Linked DNA regions of Homo sapiens: all the other regions are linked to region 2. The links are contacts of gene promoters, found by promoter capture Hi-C in blood cells and fetal thymus (Javierre and others, 2016). All regions are on one chromosome and are shown on one strand. The core of a region is centred on a gene start or on the middle of the fragment in contact, and the rest is flanking DNA. Distances in the headings are between cores, read along the strand shown.

Region 1 (3,490 bases), core at 777-3,276, 1.2 Mb before region 2:
TAATTGCATCCTTCCCAGTCTTTTAACTCCCTTTATTCTCTTCCAAGTACTGATATCTTAAAAACTGAGTCTTAATCATTTATGGGTTTATGGATTTCTTGCAGCCAAACTGTCCCCCATGAAACAGGCACAACTGAGAAACTTCTTGGCCAAGAGGAAGACCCCACCAGTGAGATCCACTGCTCCAGGTAAAGAGAACCAGTAACTGGGCCTGTACATAGTGATAGGGTGTGGTGGGGTGTGTGTGTGTGCGCGCGCACATGCACGTGTGCATGTGTGAGCTAGGGTGCTGTGTATGTGTGTGTAAGTGTGTGTGTGTTGGTTCTTAATAGGGGATAGAGAAAATGTCTCCAGAATCTGTTGTTAATCTGAATAGTGGAATAAGAACCAGCTTATATATACTTGATGAAGCAGCAAAGTAGTCGTTTTGGCTTTTACACTGTTTTCTGCAGTCCTCAAGTTTTATGGCACTGATTCACAAGGGTTTGAGATAGGCTGAGCTGGATCCTAGCCTCTGCTTTAGCCAGAGAAGGTTTACTTTTCTGATTTGTGTTGGGTTTTGAGTAAGTTTGCATCTGGGAAAAAGGCATTTTAAAAAATAAATAAATAATAGAAAAAAATAAAAGACGAGGTCTCCCCATGTTGCCCAGGCTGTTCTCAAACTCCTGGGTTCAAGTTATCCTCCTGCCTCAGCCTCCCAGAGTGCTGGGATTACAGGTATGAGCCACTGTGCCTTGCCGAAAAAGGCTTCTTTTATGAAAAAAGAAGAAAAAAATAAGATTAAGCAATGTTGATTAAAAATACTTACTTAAAAATACTTGCTTAAAGAAGCCATAAATTTTTTTCCCATTACATTACCTAGATAATAACTTCAATTTAAAGAAAAATTTGTGACAATTTTAGGCATAACTGCTTTGTTTTAGTATCCATATCCAAATTTTTCTTTGAGATTCTGTTTTCAGTTAAAATTTTTTTATGCCAATAACAAATGCTTTTGGTAATCAGAATAACTGAAAGAAATTTAATCTTACTGATTTATTTTTCTGTACTCACATAGAGCTAAATTAGATAAATAATAGTCACAGACAAGTTAATTTTCAAATAATTTTTCTTTACCTAAAGAATACATTCTCTTGGTAGGTAATTGGGAAAAATATGGAAAGTATAAAGGAGAATAAAAAATATTAGCTGAGTGCGGTGGCATGCACCTGTAATCTTAGCTCTTCAGGTGGCTGAGGCAGGAGGGTTGCTTGAGCCTGCAGCTGCAGTGAGCTATGGTCATGCCACTGCACTCCAGCCTGAGCAACAGAATCTCTAAAAAAAATTAAAAAGTTAAAAAATTACTCTCTCTCAACCCAGATATGGCCTCACTTAGTTATTTTGGTTTAGTTCCAAACTTTTTTCTTTGCATATGTAAATCTGATTTATTTTAAAATGAAATTGAGATTATAACAGTTTTGTGTCTTGATTTTTTTCTAATTTAAAATTCATGAGCCCTTACTATTAAACAAAATAAATGCTGGTGGTGAAGATATGGAAAAAATGGAAGCTTTGTGCACTATTGGTGGGAATGTGAAATGGTAAAGCCACTGTAGAAAACAGTTTGGTGGTTCCTCAAAAAATTAAAAATGTGATTACTGGATGATCCAGCAATTTCACTTCTGGGTATATACCCCAAATAATTGAAAATAAGGTTTCAAAGAGATACTTTTGTATCCATGCTCATGACAGCATTATTGGTAATAGCCAAGAGGTGGAAACAGTGTGTCTGTTAATGAATGAATGGATAAACAAAATGTCTGTCTATACAATGGAATATTATTCAGTCTTTAAAAAGGAATTTTTGACACATGTTACAATATAAGTGAACCTTGAGGACATTGTGCTAAGTGTCCTCAAATAGACAAATACTGTATGATTCCACTTATATGAAGTATCTAGAGACATCAAATTCATAGAGATGGAAACAAGAATAGGGGTTGCCTGAAGGACTGAGGTGGGGGGTCATGGGGAGTTATTATTTAATGGGTATAGAGTTTCAGTTTTGCACAGGGAAAATAGTTCTGGAGATGGATGGTGGTGATGATTACACAACAATGTGAATGTACTTAATACCAATGAACTGTGTACTTTAAAACACTTAAGATGGTAAATTTTATGTTACATTTTACCAAATTTTAAAAATTGGAAAAAAGATTTAAACTTAAAATCTTAACCTTTTCCTCTGCCTTCTGTGTTTAAATATTCTTTGAACACATGCCTTATAAAGACAGCACAATATTTCCTTGTATTAGAAGGCCATAATGCCTGTTGCTAATCTTGTTGCCAAAATTTTCTCAGAACGTCTTTGTTCACAAATCTTTAGCCCACATCAGATTATATATTTAGATAGAGTCCTTACAAGTGAGATTTATGTAATTTACTTATTCATTCATTCAATAAATATGATTGCCTAGTTTGTTCCAATCAGTGGTAAATAAGAGAAACATGGTCTCTGCCCACATGAAGCTTTTCATTTAAGAGGAGGAATTCAGACATTAAGCAGATAACTGCACATGATACTCATTTAATGTTAGTGGGCATGCTGGGAAGAATAACTCAGCATGTAAACACTTTGAATTTTTAAAATTGTGAAAAACAACACACATTAAGTGCACAAAACAAAAACGTATATCCCTGTAGCCTCTACCCAGGTCAAGAAACAGAATATTGCCGTTTTTTAGAAGCCCTCTTGCATACCCCAGTTTTCCTTCTTCCCCTAAGGCACGATTATATGGGCTTATGTGAGAGTTTTGCCTTTGCCTTTTTTTTTTAATTTGACATTTTTTGTTATTTTTAATTTATTATTTTGAAAAAATTGAAACTTCCAATTGCGAGTACAGTAAGCACCCACTTACCCCTCACCCATATGTTTACTACTGTTTGCCACAATTGTTGCTGAACTATCTGAGAATAAGCTGAAGACAACGCCCCTTATTCCTAAATATTTCAGCATGTGTCCTCCCAAGAACAAAGGTGCTCTCTTACACACCATAATACAGTTTGCAGGTTCAGGAAATTTAACGTATACAGTTATCTCATATACAGTTGATACTCAAATTTTGCCGGCTGTCCCACTTACCCCTACACGTTGATTGGATCTAGGATCCAATCCAGGATTCTGCATTGTGTAAGTTGTCATTCTCTTTAGTCGCCTTTTCTTTGTTTTCCTTCAGAGCTTTACTATGTAAGCATACCTCCCAAAACACTATGATTTGGTTTTGCCTGTTTTTGCATACCACATAAATCCATTCACTTAGTCTCTGGACAGGCTTCTCTTGTTCCACATCAGGCTTGTAAGATCCATCCGTGTTGTTGCCTCTAGCTGTTATTTTAGTTGCTCTGTATAGGATTCTATTGTATGAATATGCTGTATTTGTTTATTCATTTTCCTGTTGGACATGTGCTGCTTTCAGTTTATAGCTATTACAGAAAAGGTTCTGAATATTCC
Region 2 (3,537 bases), core at 738-3,237:
TAAATCACAAACAGAGCAAAGCCGATTATTTCTTTTTTTTCTTTTTTTTTTGAGACGGAGTCTTGCTCTGTCGCCCAGGCTGGAGTGCAGTGGCGTGATCTCAGCTCACTGCAAGCTCTGCCTCCCGGGTTCACGCCATTCTCCTGCCTCAGCCTCCCGAGTAGCTGGGACTACAGGTGCCCGCCACGACGCCAGGCTAATTTTTTTGTATTTTTTAGTAGAGACGGAGTTTCACCGTGTTAGCCAGGATGGTCTCGATCTCCTGACCTTGTGATCCAACCGCCTCGGCCTCCCAAAGTGCTGGGATTACAGGCGTGAGCCACCCACTGGCTGATTTCTTTTCTTTTCTTTTTTTCTTTTTCTTTTTTTGGAGACAGAATCTCGTTCTGTCACCCAGGCTGGAGTGCAGTGGCACGATCTCGGCTCACTGCAACCTCCGCCTCCCGGGTTCAAGCGATTCTCCTGCCTCAGCCTCCGGAGTAGTAGCTGGGATTACAGGCGCAAGCCACCAAGCCTGGCTAATCTTTGTATTTTTAGTAGAGACGGGGTTTCGCCATGTTGGCCAGGCTGGTCTTGAACTCCTGACCTCAGGTGACCCACCTGCCTCGGCCTCTCAAAGCGCTGGGATTACAGGCGTAAGCCACAGCGCCCGGCCTTGATTTCTTTAAATAACATTTCCCCTTCCATCAGTTCCTTTCCTTCTTTTTTGTAAATACTTCCTAGGCTGCTCTCTGGTCTCTGGAGCCCAGTACAACCTTCTAAATATATAGTCTCTCCCTGCTAAAAACTTTTTAGGGTTCCCCTGTTATTCTTAAGATAAAGTCAAAATCCTCACAGACCTGCAAGAGTCTTCATTTCTTCATAATCTAGCCTAGAGATGGACAGAGGTAAGTCCATGCCCACCTCTCTACCTCTCACTTCTCTCTAGGTTTCAGAAACCCTGCTGTTTTCAGTTCCTAGAATACACTACCTTCCTTTTCGTCTCAGGAACTTTGCAAAAACAGCCCATTCCATCAGGAAAGCTCTTCCTCCGCATTACCTTTCTGCCCTTTAACTGGTCCAAGTATGAAAGCCACTTTCTCAAGAGGACCTCTCTAACTCCTTAGCCGGTCTCATCTTTCTGGTTAACAGTGTTTCCCAACAACCAGCTGCTCCCCATTGCACTTTTGGCAGTTATAATATGATCGGCTTCTTGAGGGCTGGAATCCTGGCCATCTTGCTCCCAAATGGCTCCCCAGTCAGTGCTCGATACATATTGAGAACGGATATGCATTTATCCCCCCTTACTCAGAACATACACTTCCCGCTCTGCAGGTACGTGCCCAAACCTGGTCCCGGATTCTCTCACCGCCTTTGGGGTGCGAGAGAGACCCCGCTCTGCTCCCGGGTGGGCGCTCCAGGGCTGAGACTGGAGGAACTAACCAGATGTGAATTCTGCATCTTCTCACTCCCAAAGACCCAAGCCGCGGCCGGGCGCGGTGGCTCACGCTTGTCATCCCAGCACTTTGAGAGGCCGAGGCGGGTGGATCACCTGAAGTCAGGAGTTCGAGACCAGCCTGGCCAACATGGTGAAACCCTGTCTCTACTAAAAATACAAAAATTAGCTAGGCTTGGTGGCGGGCGCCTATAATCCCAGCTACTCGGGAGGCTGAGGCAGGAGAATCGCTTGAACCCAGGAAGCGGAGGTTGCAGTGAGCCGAGATCGCGCCACCGCACTCCAGCCTGGGCGACAAGAGCAAAACTCCATCTTTAAAAAAAAAAAAAAAAAACACCCAAGCCTCAGTTTCCCCGAGATAAGGCCTGGGGCAAAGACCGCGGCCTGGAGACCTCAGGCCAAAAGGCGGGTCTCCCAGAAGACGGGGAAACCCACCACCCCACGCTGAGTTTTTACGCGCGCATTTTGAAAAACAGAAACAACAAAGGCGCTTTCAACTTACCCTCCGAAAGCGCCGCCACCTTTCTCCCAACCCGGAAGTGCTGCTGTTGAGGAAGCGGAAGTAGTAGTGCGTCGCCTTCCGGCCCCCTCGGCGTCACGCTGCCATGGTAACACGGCTGCCGCTAGGCCTTGGAGGCGCGCACATTTGCCTACCCATTTTCCTTCTGGGTCCTTTAGACGTCAGGTGGGGTAGAGAGTGCTCCTGAAACGAAGAAAGTAGGACAGAATCCCCCTCCATTGACGTACTAATGCATGCGTGCATTCCATTTATTCCAGTTTTTGGTGAACTCCAGGAACAACTTGGGAAGACAGATGACAAATCAACTAAGATAATTTCAGATTATCTTGTAAGGAAAATAAAACAGGGTGACGTGATGGAGAGTGACTAGGGGACGGTGGGTGCTACTTTAGATGTAAGAGAGGGCTCACTGAGGAGGTGACATTTGAACTGAGTTCTAAATGGAAAGGGCAGGCAAAAAATCTAGGCAGAAGAGTGTTCCAGGCTGGAAGTGAGTGCAAAAGTCCTGAACTTGGTTGCTGGAGGACCTGGGACAAGGCCAGAGCAGCTGGAGCACAGAGTGAATCCACACAGTGAACCCACAGGGTGACAGACAGGTCGCACACGCCCAGCCTAAGTGAATGCATGTGAATGCAGGGGAGGGGGTGGGAGAGGAAGTCAGAGGTCTGCAGGGGCTATCTGGTGCAGAGGCTGATGGATGTTAAGCTTGGATGAAGTCTCAGAAGTTTAGAGTTAGCAGGAGCTTTGGAGATCTATCCCAGTCTTCCCATTTCAACAGAGTCCTGAAGAGACTTAGCCAAAAGGGCAGCTTTAACCTGGCCATCAATTCGAGGCCATTATATTTACCAACCAAACGTTTAACCTTTTTGGATAGTGAACATATACGATATAGGCAACAAGTTTTCTCACTTAATCCTTGTAATGAGGTATTATTAGCCCCACCTTGTGGATGAGAAACCTGGGTTTACAGTAACTTGTCCAAGGTGACTTAAATGGGCCAGCCAGAAATCAGACCTATGCTCTTTCTACTACTCCACTATCTTGCCCCTCACTGTTCCACCTGACTTCTATGTGATCTGCCAAGTGGCTTTGATTAAAAAATGCACAAACTATGCTTCCGTGAAAGTCTGGAAGGGAAGCAGGTTGGAGAAACGATGAGCCTATGTATGTACTCATGTTGCCATGCAAGGGCTGCTCTGGGATGTGGACGTGCAGTTGGAGCTCCGTCTGGAGAAGTCTGTAAATGTGGTGTTGTCCACTGTTGATATGGAAGGCCTTGAAGTCCAGGTCCGTCATTGGTGTCACGTGTTCTGTGGTGACCCCACTTACCCAGAGCCTTGTGGTGCTAGTGATGCATGAATGAACCCACAAAAGGCTGGCACTAGAGGAGAGATTAGATATCATCCAGTATCGATTCAGGAAAACTCCAATAGTGGTTTCCAATCCTCCTCCAACTGCACCAATCACCTGGGAAGCTTTTTTTTTTTTTTTTCAAATGCAGAGTCTCAACTTTGCAATGGATTTTATATTAAACACTATTGTATCACATTAAAATCTTCGGACATGATAATGACATTGTAGT
Region 3 (3,396 bases), core at 275-2,774, 1.3 Mb before region 2:
AGTGTCTTCCATGAAGATAAACTGCCATCTTAGCTAATTTGGAACAACCAAGTCCTATTAATATAAATAGAAAATATTGACACAAAGAATTCTTTTCTTATTTAGTTGGTTATTTAATTTAAAGATTAATATTTTTACCTTATGGAAAGTTTGGAAAATAGAAAAAAAAATTATTCATTTTTGAGACAGGGGTCTCACTCTGTTGTGCAGGCTGGAGTGTAGTGGCAGGATCTTGGCTCACTGCAGCCTCTGTCTCCCAAGTCCAAGCGATCCTCCCACCTCAGCCTCCCAAGTAGCTGGGACTACAGGCACAAGCCATCACACCTGGCTGATTTTTGTATTTTTTTTGTAGCAACAGGGTCTCACTTTGTTCCCCAGGCTGGTCTCAAACTCCTGGACTCAAAGGGTCCTCCTGCTTTGCCCTCCCAAAGCTCTGGGATTACAGGCATGAGCCACTGCGCCCAGCCTTCCATTGACTTTTTTTTTTCTTTTTAACCATTTGGATTGCATTAAATATCTTTTTCATTTTTTGCATTATGTTTGTAAGCTTTATTCTTAGAAGAGAAATTACTGGGTCTGTTTTTTACAGTTTTTTATACAATGCCAAAATGTTTTCTTAAAAAAAATACTAGTTACCTACCAGTGATAAAAAGTTTCAGGTTTGTTTTACCCATCCAAACATAAGGGGTTAGACATATTTAAATTCTTATAATTTAGAGGACAAATTAAAAATGTACCTTGTTTATATTTCTTTGATTAGAGAGATTGAATGTGTTTTCTTTATGTGAGTTAGTTTCCCTGTTTATTAGTCCTGAAATTTTAAAATCTCAATTTGTATGAGCTTTTTAAAAAATAGAAAACATCTTATTTGTCATTTGCTATGGATCTTTTTTTTTAGTTCATTACCATTTAGTTATTGTACCTGAGTAGCTATTTTTTACACAAATCTTAACCTTCTCCCTTTGCGATTGTTTTTTTTTTGGTCACTTCTAAATTTATCAAGGTGTTAGATTCTGAGACCTAACATATCTATCAATTTGCCTCCTTTGTTTTGAGATACCTGTATTTATGTGACTTTCTATGTGTATTTATCTGGAATTACTTTTAGTGAAATAAGGTGGAGGTCTGAATTAAAACTTTTTCCTGGTTGTTAATGAAATGTTGCAGTGACTGAACTGTTTTGTGTGCCATAGTAGCACTGAGAAGTCCATGAAGTCCAATTATTCTAATGTCTTTCCTTAGTTTTCCTTCAGTTTCATTTATCTCATGAGACCTGAAAACTCCAACATGAACTGTGTACCCATGTGTTCTTTTTGCTTCTTAAACTAGTAACATTTCTGGCTTTATTCTACCACAAATTCTTTTTCACTTGCTTTCTATTATGTGAACCTCCACTGTTACAGTGTTAACATTTTCCTTCCTTTTTTTGTCACTGCAGGAAGTACTCCCACTACCCCAACCTCCTCTCAAGCCCCACAGAAACTGGATGCTTCTGCAGCTGCAGCCCCTGCCTCTCTGCCACCTTCATCACCTGCTGCTCCCATTGCCACTTTTTCTTTGCTTCCTGCTGGTGGAGCCCCCACTGTGTTCTCCTTTGGTTCTTCATCTTTGAAGTCATCTGCTACGGTCACTGGGGAGCCCCCTTCATATTCCAGTGGCTCCGACAGCTCCAAAGCAGCCCCAGGCCCTGGCCCATCAACCTTCTCTTTTGTTCCCCCTTCTAAAGCCTCCCTAGCCCCCACCCCTGCAGCGTCTCCTGTGGCTCCATCAGCTGCTTCATTCTCCTTTGGATCATCTGGTTTTAAGCCTACCCTGGAAAGCACACCAGTGCCAAGTGTGTCTGCTCCAAATATAGCAATGAAGCCCTCCTTCCCACCCTCAACCTCTGCTGTCAAAGTCAACCTTAGTGAAAAGTAAGTCACTTCTAAAGTTTGATTCTTCTGTGAGTTGGGTAGAAATATTGGATGTTATTTACTAAAAGTAGAGTCACTCTGAGAGGAGTTAACTGAGTAGAATTTTTTTACCCAGAGTGATACTTGCAAATGGCAAAAATTCAACCAACATAAAATACTGGCATTTCATCAGTGAATAGAGTCCAGAAGGGTCTCTTAGCTAGCATTTTATTTTTTTGACTATGGGATTTATATTCAGGTATTTGTTTTGCTTTTTTACGTTACAAATGTAGGAAATATTCCTTATTTTAAAAAAAGAAGCAATCCAGAGTATGCATCCTGGAAGGGAAATGAATCCCTTGTAGTCTTTTTTCCTCCCTGTGTCTACCCTTAACTCTCTCTGAACTGCTGTCTACACAGCCACAAAGTCATCTTGTGACACTGTAAATTGTTAGGTGATTCTTCTGCTTGACAGTCCCTATGAAGCCCCGTGGCTGCTCACTGCTAATTCTTAGGTTGGTATCCAGTTTCCTCCAGATCTGGGTCGGGCAGCTCACTCATTTCTTATTTATTTACTTCTTTATCTTGTTCTTTTCTTCCCACTAGAATGTAAGCTTTTGGAGGGAAGCAATCCCTTATATCTTGTAACCCCTCCCAAGATAACCATGAGTTCCCAAGATAACCATCGAGTATAAGTACTACCAGCTTTTTCCCTACTTGCCTGTACTATCTGTTGTTGCTATGGTGGTGCTGCTGCCACCACAGTTACTGTTAATACTGAATTGGCACACATCCACTTCATGCTAAGGGTTGCATAGTGTTCCATTTTGTTGACTGCACCACAGTTTATCTGACCAGTCATCTAATGCTGGAGTTTAGATTGTCTACAGACTTTTGCTCTTTAGGTGGAACCGACTTTACATTTCCTTTAGGCCATAAGTATCCCAAAGACAGTTCCCTGCATTCCTCTTCCTTTTTCACTCCCCAGAGAAGGTGCTCACTCTCAAAACGAGTTCTCAGTAATTTCCTTGGTAAGAGAAAGTACTAACTCTCCTAAGCATAATTGTGTCCCACCTCCTGTTTAAAACTCAGCTGGAAACAATAGTATTTCATATCATGATAAACTTGGTATTTCATATTGTGATAAACTTAGTTTTGATATTTCCCCTGAATAATTAATTCCTAAATAAGCAGACGAAAAGATAAATGTTTCCTTGCAGCTTTCACCTTTTATAAGAAATAGCTAAACATTTTTGTTTCCTGAAGGCAAAAAGTATGTTATCTTTGTAAGTTAACATAAAAGATAATAAGTTATCTTTTGATGACATTGCTCATGCTAGTGTAAAAGAATCTTCTAGCAGGCTCTTCTGAGGCCTTCAGGCTGCCATTTTTCAGGTTTACTGCTGCAGCTACCTCTACTCCTGTTAGTAGCTCCCAGAGCGCACCCCCGATGTCGCCATTCTCTTCTGCCTCCAAGCCAGCTGCTTCTGGACCACTCAGCCAC

Evidence for each region. Contacts are between HindIII fragments. The CHiCAGO score rates a contact against its expected background, and 5 or more counts as called.
Region 1: a fragment that was not itself captured here is called in contact with the fragment with the promoter of TTF1 in region 2 in 1 of 17 cell types (monocytes); the score reaches 6.5 in monocytes.
Region 3: a fragment that was not itself captured here is called in contact with the fragment with the promoter of TTF1 in region 2 in 2 of 17 cell types (M2 macrophages and monocytes); the score reaches 6.6 in M2 macrophages.

What each region holds. Positions count from the first base shown.
Region 1 is chr9:131,163,957-131,167,446 of GRCh38, forward strand. It overlaps NUP214 (nucleoporin 214), which reads left to right. Exons shown (of 36, transcript NM_005085.4): 21 at 105-188. Among named protein-coding and RNA genes, the nearest start is that of NUP214, 40 kb to the left of the region's middle. The HindIII fragment of the contact is 959 bases long and covers 1,548-2,506 here.
Region 2 is chr9:132,404,853-132,408,389 of GRCh38, forward strand. TTF1 (transcription termination factor 1) reads right to left here and starts at 1,988. Exons shown (of 11, transcript NM_007344.4): 1 at 1,938-1,988. The HindIII fragment of the contact is 5,870 bases long and covers 1-2,658 here.
Region 3 is chr9:131,142,842-131,146,237 of GRCh38, forward strand. It overlaps NUP214 (nucleoporin 214), which reads left to right. Exons shown (of 36, transcript NM_005085.4): 12 at 1,439-1,913; 13 at 3,288-3,396. Among named protein-coding and RNA genes, the nearest start is that of NUP214, 19 kb to the left of the region's middle. RefSeq lists an enhancer at 1,386-1,887. The HindIII fragment of the contact is 1,959 bases long and covers 546-2,504 here.